Regions from separate parts of the Homo sapiens genome. Here all the other regions are linked to region 1. The links are contacts of gene promoters, found by promoter capture Hi-C in blood cells and fetal thymus (Javierre and others, 2016). All regions are on one chromosome and are shown on one strand. Each heading gives the region's core, a stretch centred on a gene start or on the middle of the fragment in contact. The rest is flanking DNA. Distances are from core to core; before and after follow the strand shown. Region 1 holds the start of DENND4A (DENN domain containing 4A). Region 2 overlaps DENND4A (DENN domain containing 4A). Region 3 overlaps DENND4A (DENN domain containing 4A).

Region 1 (3,652 bases), core at 826-3,325:
CTCTTTAAACCAGTGGTAATTCATGTGGAAAAGTTCAGAACAAATCAGCATCAACTTCCTGGCTCTCTTGCACAGACAAAAAATTCATATTGCTTCACCAATTTTCAAAAATGTAAATTTGTGTATATAAGTTTAAAACTTGGACCAAAAGTTATCTACATTTATTCCCAATTTGCGACTGGTATCAAGATCAATTAACTTTCTCAGCAAGTACACTGTTATAAAATTCCACAGTGATCCCAGAATGGAAGGGGCTTAAAAAATAATATAAAACAAAAATTAAACTCCACAGTGAAGTAGGTCTATGTTTAATCATTCAGAAAAAGAAAATTATGTAACATATTATATATAATGATGATGATAACATATGCTGTTCTGGACTCCTACTGAGAGCTGTGGTTCAAAGGGAAATCGTGAAAATAAAGTAAAAATTGCCGAAAATGTTTAATTCTGCCCAAAACAGTTTCCAAAAAAGAAGCCAAATATAATATTTTATTTTAAGTTCAAACAGGGTTCAAACAGCTCAGAAATTTTGTATACTTAAGTTTTCAGAAGTCGAATCCCAGAACCGCTATCAACATAAACTGAATAACTTGCTCAAGAGTCCTTACTTATTACCCAATCTTAGGTCCCCCAGAATACTTCTTAAAATAATCCCAAATGTACTACAATAGATTAGCGTAACCGGGGCTACGCTGTTTACAGGTGTCTCCACCTCCTCCCCCAAGGAGAGAAGAGGTATACTAGGGTAAACAGAAAATAGAAGGAGACTATATACACACCAAATAACAGCTTGTAATCTTCTAAGACTTCTTTTACATTCGGGCTATTCTTTTCATTAACGTATAATACATTTTAAAGAATAACATATTCACAGAGTAATACAATTTCTGCCCTCACGGGTCTCTAGCTGGCTGACACGCGTTTTCTCCTCAAATAAATACATGCCTGTTGACTGATGCCTGTCCTGCTGTTGCAAACAAGAAATAACTGTCCTATAAGACAAAAACCTCTCTCTACGGTTCTAGGCGTAACCATACGTTTGAATTAAAAGCACATTGGAACAACAACAACAATCTTCCAGCACATCTGTCATTTAAAAGCACGATAATGAAAAGCTGTCGCTGCGACCCAATTTTAGGTCACAAGCTTTTTACTGTTTTTCCTGCCCCCCACCTCCAGAAAACAATAAACTTCAAAGGGAATGGTGGTAACCAGGAACAGTTCCCTTCCCCCACCACACACCCCCCCAAAAAGACTAGAAAAAAAACTGGTCAACTTGGACGCTGGCCGCGCTCACGCAGAACCCGTGCCCGCGGGCCGGGGAAGGCTGAACAGACCCTGGGAGGAAAAGTGGGCCTGCAGGCACCCCGGGCTCCCCCCGCCGCCTGTCTCAGATACCGAGCAGGTGGGATTCCGGGAAGCCACCTCCGACTTACGTAACGGGCTTGTCAAAATCCCAGATCCAGGACCTCCCCCTCCCCGCCCCCACTCCCAAATAACAACAGCCCCAGGCCAGCCTGGAATAGAAAATCTGGAATGAAAACACAGGAGCCCCCCACGCGTCCGACGCAGAGGCGCGGGTGCTACTCTCAGCACCGCCGCGCCATCCCGGGGCGGACCGAGCCGCGGAGCACCTCCCGGATCTCAGGAGCTCTCGGGCGGAGATCTCGGCCATCCGTGCCTCCTCCCCGAACCCACCCGCCCCGCTCCCGCGCCCCCGGCTGTCACCTCTCCGGGCCGTGACAGCTCCACCTGCCACCGCTGCCCGGGTCGCCGCCCCCGCACTCACCACCCAGCTGGCTCCCGTGCGAGCAGCGGATCGAGCTCGGAGAGCGGCGCCGGAATCCCGCACGCGCGGTAGCGGAACACGAGGGGCTGAATGCCGCGGCGCTCTGAGCCCGCTTAGCTCATCCCCAGCCCGGCGCTCCGCCCTTCGCGGCACCCCCGCCCGCCCGCCCAGGCCTGCCGTCTCAGTCAGACGGGACTCCCCCTCCCCTCGCGGCCGCCACTGCCTCCGCCTCTTTCTCCGACTCTAGCCTCCGCGGCCACCGCGACCGGCGCCATCTTGGCAATGACGGAAGGGGCGGGGGCGGGAATCACGCCCGCGAGCACCAATCGAAGGCCGGATCTGGCCCGAGTGGGAGGAGAGGGCCGAGTTGAGGGTCGTGGGGTCCTAGCGCCAAACTGATAATGGGGCGGTGAAGGTGGGCGGGACTAAGTCGCCTTAGTCCGTGACGTGCGGTGTAGTTGGGGAAACGCACCGTGGTTCCCCGTCGGGTCAGGAGATCCCGAGCCCCAGGCTGGCGTGGGCGAAGCGTACAATCCCTTCACCTTTCGTCACCCAGAGGCACAAGAATCCAGTTCGCGCCAACTGACCTGTTTCTTCCTTCCTCCCCGGCACTCTGGGAGTCCTGAGATTGCCTTGCTCGGTTCGTCTCAGACTTGCTAGATCTGAGCAGCTGCTGCTCCTCCACCAAGGGTGCTCACATTCTCCAGGAAACTCCCTTAAGGGTTAGCAACCGCCGAGTAGGTTTCGGTCCCAAGATAGAAAGGTAAAGCGGGGAATTCAGGGGGTTTCTCCGAAAAGTACGTTGATGAAACAGCTATTGTTGACTGACGGGGTGTCGATTACTTTGGATTAATTGGATACGGCCTACTTAAACCTGACTGTGGCTCTCCACCATTGATGGCTGTTGACAGATGAGGTTAATAAAGCTTGATTACCCCCATGGGGTTGCTCGGGAGTTAAATTCTATAGTACCTGTGAAGTACTTAGTATAGTGCTTGAAAGTACTCAATAAATGTTAGACATTATTCCATGGACAAATGAAAGAAGAAACAGGACCCCCAAAATCCCTCTGCTTTAAAGTCAACTTTTCCTAAATTGCATAGCCTTTTACTAACCAAGTTTACAACTTTATTTCCTACCTCCAGTTCTTTCATTGTATTCATTCATTCAGTCAACAAACATCCATACAGAGGGTGCACAGTGGTGAGGGAAACAGAAAACCTTTGCCTTCAGGAAACTGCAGTTTAGTGGGAGAAGAGGGACAATAAAAAAGTACTTAAGCACATTTTAAGGGGAAACATGCTATAAAGGTTAGAAAAATAACTGAGGCCAGGCGCCTTTGCTCATGCCTGTAATCCCAACGCTTAGGGAGGCCGAGGCAAGAGGGTCAGCTTGAGCTCAGAAGTTCAAGACTAGCCTGGCAAAATGGCGAGAACCCTGTCTCCACCAAAAATACAAAAAATTAGCCGGGCGTGGTGGCGTGCGCCTGTGGTCCCAGCTACTTGAGAGGCTGAGGTGGGAGGATCGCTTGAGCCCCAGAGCCGGAGGCTGCAGTGAGCCGAGATTGTGCCACTGCACTCCAGCCTGGGTGACAGAGCAAGATTTTGCTTTAAAACAAAACAAAACAATCGAGTTGCATACTTTAAATATATGTAGTCCTCTGTATGTCAGTTAAAGCTGTAAAAAAAGACTTGTTTTTGACACAGAGTCTTGCTATGTTGCCCAGGCTGGAGTGCAGTGGCCTGATCACGGCTTACTACAGCCTCCCTCCCAGGCTCAATTGATCCTCCCACCTCAGCCTCTGGAGTAGCTGGGACTGCAGGTGCCCACCACCACACCCAGCAAATTTTTCTGTTTTTT
Region 2 (3,652 bases), core at 324-2,823, 91 kb before region 1:
AGACAGGGTTTTGTTATGTTGCCCAGACAGTCTCAAACTCCTGGGCTCAAGTGAACCACCCACCTTAGCTTCCCAAGGTGCTGGGATTACAGGCATGAGCTATCACACCCAGCCTTAAAATGCTATATTTTTATATATTTAAAATTTTTTATTATGACTTTTAAAATCACTTAAGATTTAGAAGTTGCAAAAACATTACAGTACAGAGAGTTCCTTGGTACAATTCACCTAGCTTCCCCCCATGATAATACCTTACATAACCATAGTACATTGTCAAAACCAGGAAACTGATGTTGGTACAATACTATTAACTTAGACACAGAGCTATGCTTCTTTTTTTAAAAAACTCTAATATCATTTTCATAATTTCAAAGAATTTATTATAAGAAAATGATAGGGTAAACAGATCTATGTCTACGCAGAGTTAACTGGATTATCATATACTAAATACTTGAATAAAGTGATTTATAACCTCTCTTAAAACTTTTATTTCTATTCAAATAAAGAATGAATAAAATTTCATATAGTTATTAAATCTAATATCAAATAAAATACATAATATATAAAATTAAAAAGTGACAGTTAAACATCACTGAAAATGAAAATGTAAAAAAACATAGGCTAGCAAATCTAGTTTTAAAAATGTACTATAATAAATGTATACATAAGCATACACAAACCTGTACTAGATCTATCATCAGTAGCATATACTTTGATTAAACCCGTATTAAAAGGTGCCTGCTCCACAGTGTGTGTCCCATGACCACTATCCATGCTGCCATGACTAACAGCATCCAGGTCACTGCCATCTGCTTAAGAACACAATTTGACAGCATTTTACTACTCGAAGAGGTAAATACACATTAATTTGTTGCTCAAGCTAATAATCCACCAATGTAATACTGAACATGAAAAGTGCCACATACTTAGCAAAATACAACTATAACAAAGAAACCTATTGTGAGTTATTAATGAACACTAAAACACACACAAAGGTCGTCAGAAGTTGAAACATTTAAACAGAAGTGAAATCTGGTGGTTTTTAAATGGGAAGAGTAATATAATTTGCTTAATAAAACTAAAAACTAAAACATTCAATATTTTAAAACTATTTAAAATTTCTAAAAATGTAAACTGTAGCTAATCAATTAATTTTGAAGAACAAGTAAAACACATACATCCCTTACCTGAGAGAGTTGTTTGTGATAAGTGTGCATGCTTCTTTAAAGCTCTTTTGAACTGTGTTACTCCTAAAACAACATTTCTTACTTTTGTCCAAAGAAAATAGCCACTACGACTTCTTGAAGGCCAGGTACTTTCCAAAACAGCCTATTCATTCAACAAAATAAAATAATTAGTAAAATAATTTTTATAAGTGAACATATATTGGTTTCAGAATTAAGCTAAAGAATATCAAAGTAGGCCAGGAGTGGTGGCTCATGCCTGTAATCCCAGCAATTTGGGAGGCTGAGGCAGGTGGATCACTTGAGCCCAGGAATTCAAGACCAGCCTGGGCAACAAGGTGAAACCCCACCTCTCCAAAAAATATGAAAATTAGCCAGGCATGGTGGCACATGCCTGTAGTCCCAGCTACTCAGGAGGCTCAGGTGGGAAGATCAATTGAGCCTGGGAGGTCAAGGCTACAGTGAACCATGATTGTGCCACTGCACTCTAGCCTGGCGCTAGAGTCTCACAGAGTGAGACCCTGTTTCAAAGAAAGAAAAAATCAAAGTAGATTGTATAACATAAAAGAGAACTAAAGTCTTCCTTGATTGACAAAATGTATTTTATATACTCTAAAATAAATGCCAAATAACCCCCTGCATAAATTATTTCTGCCATTAATGTTGCATAATGACAAAAGTAATACTCTTTATCCATTAAACCAAGGTATTTACCTTATTATAATAACCATAAGTAATGGCATTGGGGTCAATACCAGCTTTCTGCATTTCAAAAAGCACTCGAACTGCAAGCACTGGCTGATCATATTGTCCACAGAGTTGCATAAGAATGCGGTAGCATACCTGAAATACAAGTTCAAAATTGTACCGAAACACAGATGTCACCATGTACATAAATCTAGAATAAAATAATGCATTTTAAACAATAATTGTGGCAGGGCACAGTGGCTCATGCCTGTAATTCCAACATTTTGGGAGGGCAAGGCAGGTGAAGCTCTGGAGCCCAGGAGCTTCTGACTAACCTAGACCACATAGTGAGACTCTGTCTCTACAAAAAAATTAAAAAATTAGCCAGGCGTGGTGGCACATGACTGTAGTCACAGCTATCTGGGAGGCTAAAATGGGAGGATTGCATCTCTTGAGCTCAAGAGGTTAAGACTGCAGTGAGCCATGACTGCATCACTGCACTCCAGCCTGGGTGACAGAGTGAGACCCCATCTCAAAAAAATAAAATAACAACAATAAAATAATTGTTACCTCATCAGGTGGATCCATCTTCTTTGACTGCATTTTTTTAAGCACATCATATGCTGTTTTCAGAGCCCTGACTTTTGAATGACAGACTTTCACATAAGCTGGGAGACAAATAAACCACAGTCCATAACAGTGGCGCAGTAGACACCTAGACCACATCTGAGGGATGGAAGAGTACCTCTTTGCAATTTTATGGGCTGATTTAATTTCCTGGAAAAAATATAAAGATCTTACTAATAAATTTATGCACTTAGGCATCTTTATTTAACTGAGTGCTAAACAAGTACAAGTCACATGCTTTTATAATGTTTCCATAACAAAATATGTCTGTAATTAATGCGTTTTCAAGTTTCTTTTTGAATCTGTATTAAACAGCATATAAAATAAAGTTCTAGGACAAGAGAACTAGTTAATTTCTTGAAGTCAGATTGCTCCATCTTCACAGTGCTTTGGTGAACATAATAATCTAGTAATAGTTATATATGAAGTGATAAAGCATATTACGGGAGGATAAATATCCAATTTATTTCTTGTTCTAAAATTTGATTACATGAAGAATGTGATAAAGTACCTGTTTTGTTCTTCTGAACATGGGCAAAGGGCTATTAGGACTACTTGATTTTGAAGGCAATTTGTTCTTCTTTGCTTGTAGAAATCCTTCAGGTCTTTCAAATAAATTGTTCCTAAGAACTGGAAATCCATTATAGCTGTTTTAGAAAAAACAAAACAAAACAAAAAAGAGTTCTCAAGCACACATAGATGATCATAGTGGTTACAGGTTAATATAATTACGACCAATAACTTCTTCACATAGAATTTAACTATCTTTCTTTGTCAGGCTGTGATATACACTCAACAAATATTCATGCTAATGTTGCTCTTCTTACTATAATTAGAAATGTAATAGCCAAATTCAGACTCAAGTTAGTTTTTGAGGAAAAGGGAAAAACATAAATGAACATGACATCCAACTCCAAGGTAACTTTAGCAAACTTTTAAAAGTTAGTACTCTTGTTAATACATAGCAAACATATTAGATAATATGACAGTTGGTAAAAGGCCTACCAAATTAAGACTCTTTCAAAAAGGGCAATCATTAATGTCATTGCTTTGGATTAACATATTTACTGTTGAACCTCCCTTCTTAGAAAGATGCAAATAACAACCTTAGGTTTAGCATATTAGCACACCAGGCCTTGCTCTCACATTCTCAT
Region 3 (3,652 bases), core at 672-3,171, 68 kb before region 1:
GCAAACTTCGATTTTCAAACTTTAAGATAGGCACACAGAAAAATAAAAAACATTTTTAAAAGATAAGCACAGCATTAAGATCCACTGAAGGTGAAAAGCTCTTACCCCACTGATACCATCAGCATTTTCTAATGTAGTTTACATCATTTGTCTTCGATTTTCAAAACTAACTTTCTATTCTGTGTATGAAAAAAATAGGCCAGGCATGGTGGCTCATGCCCGTAATCCCAGCACTTTGAGAAGTCGAAGAGGGAGAACTGCTTGAGCCCAGGACAACATGGTAAGACCCTGTCTCTGTAACAAATTAAAAAATTAGCCAGGCGTAGTGCCTCATTGTGTCTGTAGTCCCAGCTACTCAAGAGGCTGAAGTGGGAAGACTACTTGAGCCCAGGAGGTCAAGGCTGTAGTGGGCCATGTTTGTGCCACACACTATAACCTGGGTGACAAAGCAAGACCGTGTCTCAAAAGAGAAAAAAAAAACAATATAAAGGTGGAACCCCACATTTTTTCCATGGTATTTCAGTAACGGTAAAATAAACCACCTTAACATCCTTTTGAATTTTATTATTTTAAGATGGTTCTATAAAAATTTGGTAGATATAATATACATATTTTGCATTCCAGCCTGGCAACAGAGCGAGACTCCGTCTCGAAAAAAAAAAAAATACACATTTTATAAATCTCTCATTCATCTTCTAACAAATTTTGCTTTAATGATCATCTGCCTTTAAAATGGTAAAACCGCTTTCTGCTAGATAAACATTATTCTTTTATAAGTAAGGCAAAGTAATTGGAGTCCCTTTTTCAGATTAAATTACCTCCTTTAATTAAGTTATCCACTTACATTTTGCCAATTGCTGATGCAAATTATTCAGTGTGTTCATCAGATTTTTACATGGCTTCTTTGGAAGTATCTTCCAGGCTACATTTTTCTTGTCACCAATTCTAAGATTAAATAACAACAGGAATATATTTGTTACATGGTCTTTTGGAGGGGAAAGGTATATATCTGTTATATATAAAAACGGGAAAAGATTAAACACCTTGAATGAAAAATGAAAAACAAAATATTTGCATTAACAAGAGAAAAATCCTACAGGGGTAAATTGGCATGTTGAATATACAAAAATTAATTTGTATGAGGGTAGAACCTTGTATTAAATATAGTTCACAAGTTTATATTTATACTGAGTAAATTCCAGTTGCTTTGGAATCTTGCTAATCACCATAAAGCTTAATGTGGTGATCTTTACTCTTAATCTCCATTTAAGTGTGCTTAGACACCTAAATAATAGAAAAATCCTACCATAAGTTTTTTTCTTAAATACTGTAAGAAAAAGCACTACAAAAACTTTCAGTAAATTCATGATCCACAGAGCTTATCAAAATACTTCGGTATATTTAAATACTTAGTTTCTTAGTTTCCTAAGAGTATAAGTAAGGATCATTTTTGTTTCTTTCAAAAAAGAAATAACCTATTATACTAAATTACTTGAATAAAGCATAATATTGTGAAATACTTATATAACTATAAAAGAGGATATCCGTTAAAAATGATAAAGCAGTTTCCCCCTTATCTGTAGAGGATACATTCCGAGACCCCCAGTGGATGCCTGAAATCACAGACAGTTCAGAACCCCATATTTACTATGTTTTTTCCCAAGCATATATACCTATGATAAAGTTCAATTTATAAATTAGGCACAGTAAGGGATCGATAACAATAATTTATAATAAAATAGAATTATAACAATATACTTTAATAAACGTTATGTGAACGTGGGCTCTCTCTCTCAAAATAACTTATTGTACTGTACTCATGTACTTTCAGACTATAGTTGGCCACAGATAACTGAAACCATGGAAAACCAGACTGTGGGTAAAGGAGGAACTATTGTATCTTTGTTTCTGGGACAGGCTCCTATAATCTCCTTTATTATAGCAATTACAACACAGTTGGTCTCTAAACCATACATGGGGTAGGAGTAGAAAAGAGCATGGTGATAAAGCATTGCAAAGCATTTGGACTTAAAGATAGCTTTAATGACTCCACTTTAAAAAAAAAAACCAGAGAGACAACGTCTCACTCTGTCACCAAGGGTGGAGTGCAGTGGCATGATCACGGCTCACTGCAGTCTTAACTCCCAGGCTCAAGTGGTCCTCCCAAGCAGGCCTCAGCCTCCCAAGCAGCTGAGACTACAGGCGCGCACCCCTACAGCCTGCTAATTTTTATTTTGTAGAGATGAGGTCTTGCTTCGTTGCCCAGGCTGGTCTTGAACTCCACATCTTAAGGAATCCTCCTGGCCTCTGCCTCTCAAAGTGTTAGGATTACAGGCAAAAGGCACTGTGACCAGCTGACTCTACTTTTTTTTGAATCGTTTTTTTTTTTTTTTATTTCAAAAGCAATGAATATTCATTTTAGAAAACTTGAAAAATGTATAGAAAAAGAAAAGAAAAGTAAAACACTCATATTTTAACCACCACAGAACAACATAGCACAGGTGTGTAGTGGAACTTGCTGAACCTTTTTATATTCCCTAAACTTCCTACAGAACAAAAAAGGGCAAATATCACTTTGAAAAGTAAACAAAGAAAAAAGAGTGGGATAAGAAAGCTTAAGCTGAACAAAAATGACTGTCTTGGAATTTGTCCCCTCTATCTTTCCACAAATGAGAATAAAAATAAAGATAGGGCAAAGTCAAACTGCAGATGTCCTGCTGTGAAGGTGTGATTACATTTACAATGTGACCAACAGGATCCTGTGTTATAGTAAGAACGCAACATAGAAACACTTTTTAAAATTATTTTCTTGATGAAACTCAGTAACACAGCTTTCCCACTGTGTCTTACCATTCACTGCATAGTGCCTGTCTTGCTAGACTTAATTATGAGTGTCTTAAGAGAAAGAAGAATATGTGGTTTGCTATTTTATTCCCAGTGCCTAGCAAAAAAAGGGCACTCGGGATATGTTTGTGGCGTAAATGAATGAACAACATCTTGGTATCATCTGATCACATCTAATTACTGTTACTTACTGCTATAATTTCTGCCTCTTTCCTTTGATATCTTCCCTCTAAAACTTGGCTGGGTAAGGGAATTTTTTGAAGTACTTGAGTTTGGTCTATGATCATCTTCTTATAAAAAAGATCATCTTATGAGTAAATGTATATTTACTCATGATGACTTCCACTTACAAGATTACTACATTATTTTATGACATACACATATTATATAGTTACCCAATAATTAGTGGTAGAAGCATTAGTTTTGGAGTCAAACAGTAATGGCTTTAAAATGCAGTTCTGACAACATAAGCTATATGCCCTTTGATAAATCGCTTAAAAATCTAAGCTTTGGTTTCCTTGTCAGAAGGGTTAATAAGAACTACCTCGGCTGGGCGCGGTGGCTCACGCCTGTAATCCCAGCACTTTGGGAGGCCGAGGCGGGCAGATCATGAGGTCAGGAGATGGAGACCATCCTGGCTAATGCGGTGAAACCCCGTCTCTACTAAAAAATTCAAAAAATTAGCCAGGTATGGTGGCGGGCACCTGTGGTCCCAGCTACTCGGGAGGCTGAGGCAGGAGAATGGCAAGAACCTGGGAGGTGGAGCTTGCAGTGAGCTGAGATCACGCCACCACACTCCAGCCTGGGC

The links. The method cuts DNA at HindIII sites, captures the fragments that hold promoters and counts their contacts. A CHiCAGO score of 5 or more calls a contact.
Region 2: a fragment that was not itself captured here is called in contact with the fragment with the promoter of DENND4A in region 1 in 2 of 17 cell types (total B cells and naive B cells); the score reaches 7.9 in total B cells.
Region 3: a contact is called between a fragment that was not itself captured here and the fragment with the promoter of DENND4A in region 1, in 4 of 17 cell types (total B cells, naive B cells, megakaryocytes and 1 more). The highest score is 7.0, in total B cells.

The regions. Positions count from the first base shown.
Region 1 is chr15:65,790,218-65,793,869 of GRCh38, forward strand. It overlaps DENND4A (DENN domain containing 4A), which reads right to left and starts at 2,076. Exons shown (of 33, transcript NM_001320835.1): 1 at 1,793-2,076. It overlaps LOC105370866 (a long non-coding RNA gene), which reads left to right and starts at 2,256. Exons shown (of 3, transcript XR_932372.2): 1 at 2,256-2,555. RefSeq lists a silencer at 1,633-1,962 and enhancers at 1,964-2,929, 2,153-2,772. The HindIII fragment of the contact is 1,569 bases long and covers 1,148-2,716 here.
Region 2 is chr15:65,699,864-65,703,515 of GRCh38, forward strand. DENND4A (DENN domain containing 4A) reads right to left here. Exons shown (of 33, transcript NM_001320835.1): 16 at 3,010-3,145; 17 at 2,442-2,648; 18 at 1,899-2,027; 19 at 1,188-1,329; 20 at 681-812. Among named protein-coding and RNA genes, the nearest start is that of SNORD13E, 4.8 kb to the left of the region's middle. The HindIII fragment of the contact is 8,993 bases long and covers 1-3,652 here.
Region 3 is chr15:65,722,004-65,725,655 of GRCh38, forward strand. It overlaps DENND4A (DENN domain containing 4A), which reads right to left. Exons shown (of 33, transcript NM_001320835.1): 12 at 845-945. Among named protein-coding and RNA genes, the nearest start is that of MIR4511, 4.5 kb to the left of the region's middle. The HindIII fragment of the contact is 1,381 bases long and covers 1,232-2,612 here.